Regions from separate parts of the Homo sapiens genome. Here region 2 is linked to region 1. Evidence: promoter capture Hi-C in human tissues and cell types (Jung and others, 2019). All regions are on one chromosome and are shown on one strand. Each heading gives the region's core, a stretch centred on a gene start or on the middle of the fragment in contact. The rest is flanking DNA. Distances are from core to core; before and after follow the strand shown.

The links. Contacts are between HindIII fragments. The study calls those that stand out against the background at their distance.
Region 2: a fragment that was not itself captured here is called in contact with the fragment with the promoter of NTN4 in region 1 in 1 of the 25 tissues and cell types used here (hippocampus).

Annotation. Positions count from the first base shown.
Region 1 is chr12:95,787,614-95,793,172 of GRCh38, forward strand. It overlaps NTN4 (netrin 4), which reads right to left and starts at 3,151. Exons shown (of 10, transcript NM_021229.4): 1 at 2,642-3,151. The coding sequence starts at 2,696. It also overlaps the pseudogene RNU6-247P. The HindIII fragment of the contact is 9,266 bases long and covers 1-5,559 here.
Region 2 is chr12:95,457,961-95,463,519 of GRCh38, forward strand. No RefSeq gene overlaps it. Among named protein-coding and RNA genes, the nearest start is that of METAP2, 13 kb to the right of the region's middle. The HindIII fragment of the contact is 3,060 bases long and covers 1,531-4,590 here.

The sequences.
Region 1 (5,559 bases), core at 1,901-4,400:
TTCCTGTTTGAGCATGAACACTGTTCTGCATTCACAATGCATTCGTGTATGCGTGTGTGTGTGCGTGTGTGTGTGTATTTGCTTTTCATGTTCAGATGTAAAATTCACATCACAGAAACAAACACTTTAGGCAGAGGGCAAGAGGAGGGAAAATAGAACCACCAGGGTGAAGATTATTGGCCTAAAACTTTTCAAGTACTTTGCCTTATAAATGTTTTCTGTATTTCAAATACATTGATGTGTTTTTGAAGTCATGACTATTGAAAAACCATAATGTTTTTAAGACCACCTAAGTTAGTCTTTCAAATTTAATGTGAGTCCTTCACATGATTTAACATGTTTATTATGAGAATGTATTTAGAAGGAAATGTGGAATTCTATTTTCTTTATATTTTTAAGCCAGGGAAGGGATAAATTCCCTAGGAAAAGCAATATGAGATATTTAATAAATATACAATGGGTCCTCATTTAGAGGGAGGCAAAGCTAGAGACCTTTGGAGTTCAGATGTGCACTATCAGTTTCTAACATTACATAAACATAACTAAGAAAAAAACTCTCTGAACTGCCAAATGGCAGAAAAGCTTATTTTACATGCTGTCTCTTCAGGGTTTCTACCTGTGACAGGTTATAGAGTAGTTAACTGTTTGCTTAACAGGAGAGTGTCTACAGTCTGGCAGCCACTAACAGCACCTTTAAATATTATCTGTGAACTACAAGACCTTCTTTAAAAAACACACTTTTCCTCCCAAAGGTCCAACAGACTTTAATGTTTTAAAATGACTTAAAATGATAAACATTATCCACTTATTAACATTCTGAGTACATACTATAATCCTTTGATTTGCGTTTGTCATTTTAATTGTGAATACCTTAAGCAAAAATCATCTATTTTAAAGGTTAAAACAGAGGGGGAAAGAGGGAAAAGGAAATCAACCCTTAAATTCTGGCTAATTGAATGTTTCTGCTGCTTAAGAAGCAGTACCTCTGAACTGTTGTCATAGTAAGGATTGGAGGAGGCCAAATGACAGCTTAGGCTGCAACAGAGACATTTCACACACTGACAATGGCCAACCCCACGAAGCCTTGCAACTAAAGGGCTTCCTTAGGCATTATTTTTTAAATGTCAAATTAAAGTGTGCATTATGCCTGGGTTCTGTTTGCCACTTTTCTCATTAGCTGGGGCAACAGTTGCTTGTGGCCAGAAGCACACAAACACACAATGTGCTATGACTCACCTGTAAAAAATTTCAAGGAAAATCATATACTGCCTGTACAAGTATTTTTGACTTGAAACACTTGCCTTGTGATGTTTATTTACAACCTTTCAATGGCTTGCATGTTTTTGCCATAATATGGTTTGAGAAGGAAAAGGTTTTTTTTAAAGCTCATATTTTAAGAGTGCAAGAATTAAAGTAAAATCTTAGGCCTTTAATAGGTCCCTGGGAAAAATATCCAATAATTTTAAATGCCCCTAAACTCCTAAGTCCAGAAAAGATTTGAGCCAGATAAAGAATCCATGGGGCAAAATACTTGGAGTCACTCAAGGGACTATTCAATGATACTAAGGATGCTCCTGTGACTTGGACTGGTTTGGGATGCAGACTGGAAAGCCTGGATTTTGCTGGGTGCCAGCGGCCCTCAGGGAAGAGTGGAAGCCCAAGGGAGGAGATGCGTGCTACAATGTTCTGTAGCCACCAGCGCATCCCTCTAGCCCAGGCGCCCCTTTCTGAAGCAGTCAAGATCCGCACGAGAGACTGGATGTCTGCAGACTCCCTCACATCTCTCCCCCTCACCTACAGGGCTGCGCTTACGCCTAACTGGAAACCAGGTGACCCGCAAGAGGGAGGGAGAGGAGCAGAAGGGGCTCCCGAATACAGAAACCACGAGCCAGGAGCCGGTGGCCTAGGGCAGCCCAAGAAAGCCAGGATGGGAGTGGGAGGGAGAGGGCATCTGCCGACGCCGACGCCGGTTGTCCAGTTACCGAGCCAGGGAGCAGACCCGCCTCCGACCTCCCGCAGAGTCTCTGCCAGGGTACCAATTCCCCAGGGGCGGCCAGCCAGCTCAATGCAAGCCCGGGGTGATCACCACCTATCGTCCAAGCCAGGAGTCCCACTGCGTTCCAGTCACTGCTCCGGGGAGAGGGCGCTCAGCCCTGCCCCAGGTGTCCTTACCTGGTTCTCTAGTACCCAGCACCAGGTCAGGGACACCAGCGATGGGCTTCTACCAGAGACCGGCCCCAGCCCACGCGCGCCCAGGGTCGCTGGGCCACCCCTCCTCATCATTCCTTAGGCCATGAAGTGCCGGGGGATGGCGAGCTGGGTCCTTTGTTCCCTCACCAAGTGGAAAAGCAGTTTTTTAACAAGCCAAACCAAGAAAGAAACCCCGGTCGCAGTATCCCCGGCAGGGCGCACCCAGGATAGCTGGTTATCCAAGCGCATGTGTATCCCAGTTGTAAAAATAAATCAATAGTATTTGAAACTGCGGAGCCCCGGGGAAAGGAGGCGGAACATGGCCACTCATTTCACCCTCGGGAGCAGCGCTCTGCGCTCGCAGCCCTGGCTCCCCTGCACCCCCGAGTCCCGAGATGGGTTAGAGAAGCAGCGAGGGAAGGGGTGGGGGCCCCGCCGCGTCACCACCCACCTGCGGCCACCACCGTGCAGCCCCAGAGCAGCAGCAGCCGCGCGCAGCTCCCCATGGCCGGGAGGAGCCGGGAGCAGCCGGGCCGGGCGGGTGCCGGAGGGAGCCGAGACCTCTGGGCTGCGGGATGAAGCGCCGCCGTCCTCGGGAGGGAACGGGGCCCTGGTTTCTTCCTCCTCCTGGGGCGCCGGGCTCGGTCAGCGGTCGCCGGCAGCTGGGAGCCAGGGGCCGGGACCGCGCGGGGAGGTGGGGTGACCCTCGCGCACCGGCCTGGCGGGTCCCGGGCACCTGGGGGGCGGCGGGAGCCCCGGGACCATAGCCGGCCTGGCTGCGCTGCCCCGCGGAGCGGCCCTGCGGGCTCGTCTGCCGCTAGCCCGGGGCTCGGCGCCCGCAGCCGCCGCTGAACTTTGCGAGACCTTTCACTTCCCGGCCGCCGCCGCCGCCTCCTCCTGGGCGTCCTCCTCCGCTTTTCCCACCTCTTCTGGCTGCCCCGGCTCCGTCCCGTCCTTCTCCACGGGCAGTTCCATGCGATGCATTTTTATTGCACCGACGCCGCGGCGCTCCGGTGCCAGCCCTCCTCCCCTCGCACCTCCACCCCTTCCTCCCGCCCGCCCCCCGCGCTTGACAGCCCGGGCGGCGCAGCCCGCGGGATCGGATCGCCGCTGCCGCTGCCGCCCGGGGGGGGGGTCCCCCGCGCCCCGACCGACGCCCCCGACGCCCGGCTGCCCGCTGGTCCCGGTCGCCTCAGCCTGGCCCCCGGCTGCCCTGGCGCCCCTCCTGGCCCGCGCCCTGCATCTCCCTAGTGACCCCCCTGGTGCCCTGCAGCACCCACAGGCCTCCCCTGGGAAGCAATCTCCCACCTTCTCCCGGAACATTCCTAAGAGCAGTAGACTCCCTCTAGATCAGGTCAGGGCATGCCAAGGGGCTTAAAAAACCGCGAAACAGGCTAGCGCCTACTTCCCACATCCCCCAGCGAAACAAGCCCTCCCTCCTCCTCCAGCCACCCCCTCTCGGGGAGTCCCACGACCCGGGGACGGAACACCCCAACCCAGCCCCGCGTCACCCGCACTGAGAGCGCGCCAACTGCTAAGCGGCGTTCGCCGCTTCTCTGCTGCCTTTTGCGGGGGTAGGGGGATGTCTCGGCTAAACAATCGCTGCCTACATGATCCGAAGGTGTGCCCACTTTGGTGTAAGAGGTATTGCCTAACTCAAACTCAAGGTGCTGAAAGAAAAGGGTCACAGGATTAGCTAGTCGGCAGTGTAAGAACATCGTTGTCCAGAGGCAGGGCAAGGGCACGACAAAGGGAACTCTTCGGTCCTTCCAAGCGTTCTCCCTTTATAGAGTATGCCGTGCTGTGAAACAGTGTTAGGAACTAACTTATGGGGAGCAATTTAGTAGCAACCACACGCAGCTAATTGCAGATAGGATTGCTCAGGGCTGGTGCTTCTGGAAAGAGATTAAATAGCAGCCGAGTCTGAGATTTTTGCAAGTTCTGTGAAAATATAATTCTACTTACACATCCAGGGAAACTGGCAAAAGTTAAGTCGACAGCAATTTTGTATTGCAGTGCTCATTTTGTTCCTTTGAATATTTTCCAGAAAATTAACTACGTTCCAGATACCATTTAGTCGTTGTGTCTGTTACAGATGAGGATAATTCAGAGCTTTGGGATACATGTAGATATTATTTACAATGACCCAGCCAGGAACATATAAGAAGTTTATATCTCCCAGGGGGATCTGGGTTGAGGTCAGCATAATCCATTTGGGCGACATTAAAATTATTCTTCTGGCCAACAGAGGAAAGTAGCAGAAGGTGTGGACAGCAATTCATGTAGCATCACCTGCTTTAGAAAATAAACGCTTTGAGTTCCCAAATACTGGCAATGGTGGGGCTTTCTTCATATCTCCTAATGGAGCCATTGAAACACCTCTCCAATTAATCTTTTTACCAAATAAATGATAGGAAACTATAACAGCCAAAGGTTCTTAGCATAAATGTTAACTTAATAGCCAAGGCAAATTAAACAAAGGGGTGGATGCACATTTATTATTAACTTCTGAGTCTAGTATATTTAGGCAGAACTAATCCATTTCTGTTTTTTAATTAACAAATAAACTTGTATGTATTTATCATGTACAACATGATGTTTTGAAATATGTATACAGCGTGGAATGACTAAATCTAGCCAATGAACATATGCATTTTTGCATATTAACATGCATTTAAGAATACACTCACTGTCTTAGCATTTTTCAAGAGTACAATATATTGCTAAAAATATAGAATGCTTCACAAATTTGTATGCCATTCTCATGCAGAGGCCATGCTAATCTTCTCTGTATTGTTCCAATTTTAGCATATGTGCTGCCAAAGCAATCACAGAACTACTCCATATCTCATTACAAATTTCAAAGCCATTTACTGTCTGCACGAATCCTGCATTGATAATATATTTCTTTGCTGAATAACTGGCTCTTATTTCCTTTAACAAGACAGAAAGCTCTCTAATGGTAGAACAGTCTTTAATATTCAGTTTATACAAAACATTACTATGTTTTTCTGATATTTTTCCTTATTCTTAGCCAAGAACACCTACAATAAGTGTTCATTACATGTTTTTGACTGAGTTGTGTTAAAACTATTGTTATATACTAAGGGGCTAAGGAGACTAAGGACTAAGGAGAAAACCAGTTATATCACAATGATTTCCCATATTCAAAAGGAATCTGCACATTCGACACCAATACTATCTATATGAAAAGCTCAGGAGAGAAAAATAGTCAGCATTCTAATAAACATCATTTGCTTATATAGTCCAGTTTAGTTACAAAGGATATTTTCATTTTGAAGAAGCTATCCAAGAAAAGGTTACCTACATAAGAAAAATCTTGGATAAGTATATTATTGCCTATGATTT
Region 2 (5,559 bases), core at 1,811-4,310, 330 kb before region 1:
ATTGTGAAGAGCAAAAGGACAAAGCTTCCACAGCATGAAAGGGGAACTGAGCGGGTTGCTGCTGCTGGCTGGGGTGGCCAGCTTTTATTCCTTTATTTGTCACCTCCCATGTTCCATTTCTGTCCTATCAGAGTGCCCTTTTTTCAATCCTCCTCGTGATTGGCTACTTTTAGACTCCTGTTGATTGGTGCATTTTACAGAGCGCTGATTGGTGCATTTTACAGAGCACTGATTGGTGCGTTTTACAGAACGTTGATTGGTGCATTTTACAGAGTGCTGATTGGTGCATTTTACAAACCTCTTGTAATACAGGAAAGTTCCCCAAGTCCCCACTCGACCCAGGAAGTCCAGCTGGCCTCACCTCTCACCAGGACCTTATTAAAATGATACTAAAGGAATTTTTTTTTAAATCAATCCACAACACATAAGACAGGAGCAGGGCTTCTGGGGATGAGAGTTATAAAAGTTCTGACTGAAATTTGATGAAGGAGAGAAAAGTCATGAAATAGTGTGGAGGAAGCACAGCCAAGAAGTCAGTAGAATAAGATGCTTTGAAAAGGGACCCAATTAGCCCTGCAAAACCTCTGAGAAATTCAGGACTTGGAAACACTAAGCAGGCCAGAGAGTGGGACCTGGGGCTTAAAAAGGAAGAATTAACTTAAAGTTTATATCAAGAATTAAGTCAGCAAGTCTACTCTTACAAGCATAATGTCTGCAGTTTAGGTGTTTCTCCATCTTCTAGGAAAAAATACAACAACAGCAACAAAGCTAAAAAAAATAGAGTGTTCTCTTCTAAGAAATTTAACAAATAATCTGGAAGCATTATGGAAATTAGAAAGGAAGTTCACATTTAAGCACCAAGTCCTGTGTATTCTGGAGTTTGCATCACTTAGGATGACTTTATTTATAGGTATCAGAAATCTCTAATTCTAAAAATGTGGAGATGTGATATCTTACATGTTTGAATGTAGAGTGACTAGGATTTCCCAATTCAATGGCTGAATGACACCATCAAGGGCCCAGCATCATTCCACCTCTCTGTCCTGTGCTCTTCATATCCCCAGGGATTATTCATAGACTTGAAAACATCTAAAGAAGAAAAGAAACGATATTTTGGTCTCTTTTTTTAATTTGAAGCACTTTTTCCAGAAGTTCCCAACGGTTTTACCTCCATGTTTTTGTTTTTGTTTTTGTTTTTTGAGACAGGGTGTCTCGCTTTGTCACCCAGGCTGGAGTGCAGTGGTGCAATCTTGGCTCACTGTAACCTCTACCTCCTGAGTGCAAGTGATCATCCCATCTCAGCCTCCTGAGTAGCTGGGATTACAGGTTTGTGCCACTACCCAGCTAATTTTTAAAGTATTTTTTGCAGAGCCTGGGTCTCGCTATATTGCCCAGGCTGGTCTTGAATGCCTGAGCTCAAGAGATCCTCCCACCTCAGCCTCCCAAAGCACTGGGTTTACAGGTGTGAGCCACCATGCCTGGCCCTCCATGTTTCATTGACCAAAATTGCAACACAAGCCGATGCCTAAACAAACCACTGGCAAGAGGAATTGGAATTCTCATGTATTAGTTTAGCCAAATCAGGATTTACCCTTGAGTTAAGGACAGGTTCACCTAGCTAGGCAGAAAAGCGTGGACACCTGAACCCAAAGAAGGATTATGTTAGCAAGGGAAAAACTAAAAATGAATTCTGGGTAAGCATCCAACAATGTCTGTTTTCCAAAGTACATGGTCTGCTTTTCATCCATTCACACTAAAGCAAACCTCCTAATTGACAAAGCTCTACCTAAAAATACTGAGTTCCCAGTCAGTTTTTCTACTGCATCATTTAAAAACAAAAAACTGGGCTGGGTGTAGTGACTCATGCTTGTAATCCCAGCACTTTGGGAGGCTGAAGCAGGGGTGGATCACTTGAGGTCAGGAGTTTGAGACCAGCCTGGCCAAGATGATGAAACCCCGTCTTTACTAAACATAGAAAAATTAGCCAGGAATGGTGGTGGGCACCTGTAGTCCCAGCTACTCGGGAGGCTGAGGTGGGAGAAACACTTGAACCCGGGAGGCAGAGGTTGAAGTGAGCTGAGATCGTGCCACTGCACTGCAGCCTGGGTGACAGAGTGAGGCTTCATCTCACTAAATAAATAAATAAATAAATATAAATAAAAACTGGCAAGCAAAGCCCACCAGATGTTGACAGAAAGCCTGCAATGTGGAAGTGCTTCCACTTTCAGCCTTGATGTAGGAAAAGGACTGATACTGGACAAGACTTCCCATTATACGCAGCTGTCAAAGTTGGAAAAAGAAATAAGTCCTTTTAGACATCCACCAATAGGAAACACAGAACTGTGATACCAGATGACAGGGAAATGATGCAAGATTCACAATCACCCTGGCTCTTTGTGTGGAAACACTGTCTTGTGTGGTGGTATCTCTGAGCTGAGGAGACATATCAGAGAGAAAGAAGCTGCACAGAAAAGAAACTCCAGGCCAGGTGAAGTGGCTCACACCTGTAATCCCAGAACTTTGGCAGGTCAAGGTAGGCACATTGCTTGAGGTCAGGAGTTCAAGACCAACCTGACCAACATAGTGAAATCCCATCTCTACTAAAAATAGGAAAATAAGCCAGGTGTGGTAGCATGCACCTGTAATCCCAGCTACTCAGGAGGCTAAGGCGGAGAATTGCTTGAACCTGGGAGGTGGAGGTTGCAGTGAGCTGAGATCACACCACTGTACTCCAGCCTGGGTGACAGAGTGAGACTCCGTCTCAAAAAAAAAAAAAAAAAAAGTAGCCGATTGCAGTGGCATGCGCCTGTAATCCCAGCTACTCAGGAGGCTGAGGTGGGAAGATTGCTTGAGCCCAGGAGGCTGAGGCTGCAGTGAGTCAAGATTGTGCCACTGCACTACAGTGACAGAGTGAGTGATAGAGTGAGATTCTGTCTCAAAAAAAAAAAAAAAAAAAAAATAGAGAGAAGGAACTCCAGAAATCTGCTCGGGGAAAGACTCCATGAGTCTAGGCAAAGTATTTCATCTAGCTCTAAGCTTTCTTTCATGAACACTTGATATTAAATCCTACACAGCCCTGGCCAATAAGCACTTGAAAATTTGCATGAGGGCTGGGTGTGGTGGCTCATGCCTGTAATCCCAGCAACTTGTGAGGCAGAGGCTGGAGGATCACTTGAAGTCAGCAGTTAGAGACTAGCCTGGCTAACATGGTGAAACCCTGTCTCTACTAAAAATACTAAAATTAACTGGGTGTGGTGGCACATGCCTGTGCTACTAGCTACTTGGGAGGCTGAGGCATGGGATCACTTTAAACCTAGAGGTGGAGGCTGCAGTGAGCCAAGATCGTGCCACTGCACTTCAGCCTGGGTAACAGAGCAAGAGCTTGTCTCAGAAAAAAAAAAAAAGAAAAAGAAAAAAAAGAAAACTTTCATGTGGGTAACGATACTCCTGACATCTTGGGCATAAGAATATTGCTTTGGGCTGGGCGCGGTGACTCACGCCTGTAATTCCAGCACTTTGGGAGGCCAAGGTGGGTGGATCACCTGAGGTCAGGAGTTTGAGACAAGCCTGGCCAACATGGTGAAACCCCGCCTCTACTAAAAAAAAAAAAAAAAAAAAAAGAATACTGCTTTGAACCATATATGTTTTCCCCAAAGCGTAAGCCTCAATACGTGGACACCACAGAAGGTAAATTTCTACTATTAGGTATCTAACTTTATTCCAACTACAAAAGGAGATAAATTATAAGATTAATAAGTAATTTAGTTCCACTTCTGTCACCTTGAATGGAAAAGAAAAAAAAGTAAGTAATTTAGGATGTTATTGGATACAACTATGATTGAGAAAGAATGTGTATTTCAAGGAAGTAAAAGAAGACAAGCTTTTTATTTTATTATTATTATTATTTGACACGGAGTCTTGCTCTGTTGCCCAGGCTGGAGTGCAATGGCACGATCTCAGCTCACTGCAAACTTCACCTCTGGGGTTCAAGCAAATCTCCTGTCTCAGCCTCCCGAGAAGCTGGGATTACAGGTGCCCACCACCACACCCACCTATTTTTTGTATTTTTAGTAGAGACGGGGGTTTCACCATGTTGGCCAGGCTGGTCTTGAACTCCTGACCTCAGGTGATCCATCTGCCTCGGCCTCTCAAAGTGCTGGGATTAAGGTGTAAGCCACTGTGCCCGGCCTAGGAAGACAAGTTTTTTAAAGGAAAAATGAGGAGGATCACTGGCTAAAAGGATCAATAACGAGGGTGGAGCCAGTCAGAGTATGGACAAGCAGTTGCTGGGCAGGTGTCCTCACAGAAATGTTTTGTTTTGTTTAGTTTTGCAAGATTGCTATGGCCTTTGTGCAAGGCTGTCATTTTTGCAGTCTTTTACCGTAATTCTTGTTATCAGACTTTGGGCATGAGAATCCTCCCTTCATGGCTTTCTGAGGCTCTATTTTTCAGGGTTTTGTTGTTTGGCTTTTTTTTTTTTTGAGACAGAGTCTTACTTTGTCCCCAAGGCTGAAGTGCAGTGGCACGATCATAGCTCATTGTAGCTTTCACTTCCTAGGCTCAAACCATCCTCCTCAGCCTCCCAAGTAGCTGAGACTACAGGCATGGGCCACCATGCCAGCTAATTTTTGTATGTTTTGTACAGATAGGGTTTCACCATGCTACCTAGGCTGGTCTTGAACTCCTGGACTCTCCTGGACTCAAATGTTATGCCAGCCTTGGCCTCCCAAAGTGCTGGGATTACAGATGTGCACCACTATCCCCGGCCTTGTAAGGGTTTTTAACACAAGTGACTCCATTATGATTCTGACAACTTTCACACTTTGTCCCTTGAGTTGGTGTCCAGGAAAGTACATCACAATCTCTCCTACGTAGCCTGTTTTGATGCCCCCTAACAAAATTGCTCTATCTGAAGTCAACAGTCTATTGTGAGACTTTGTACTACTTGATCTTTCTACAACAGCTGACATAGGTGATCAAACTATTTCATGAAACATTTTCTCTCCTTACCTTCATGTGATTTTTCTCTACAGCATTTTCTCCTTCTTGTCTTACCATTCCCTTGTAGTGTCCCACTCTCCCCACAAACAAACAAAATCTCCAAAACATTAGTGTCCTTGTGGGTTGTGTTTTGTTTTTTGGTCCCCTTCCTGTCTTCCTGAATGGTCTTGTTCATAGCCTCTGCCACACGGAGGGCCTAATTACTCCCGTGTCTGTATCTCTAGATGCATATTTCTAACTGACTACCAGATATCTTTGCCTGGGTGCCCTGCAGGCATCTCAAATTTAGAATACCCAAAGCTTATCTTCCATTCCACTTCTTCCAAAACCTACCTCTCCTCCTTCATTCTCTATCTTAGGGAGCGGTACCCGTCTCCACCCAGCAACCCAAGCCAGAAACCTGGGTCTCATGCTCAACTCCTCTCTCTCTGTGCTCAGTGCACTATTAAGTTCTCTTAATATCTCTTTAGAAATGTTTCTGTGGAGGCCGGGTGCAGTGGCTCACGCCTATAATCCCAGCACTTTGGGAGGCTAAGGCAAGTGGATCACTTGAAGTCA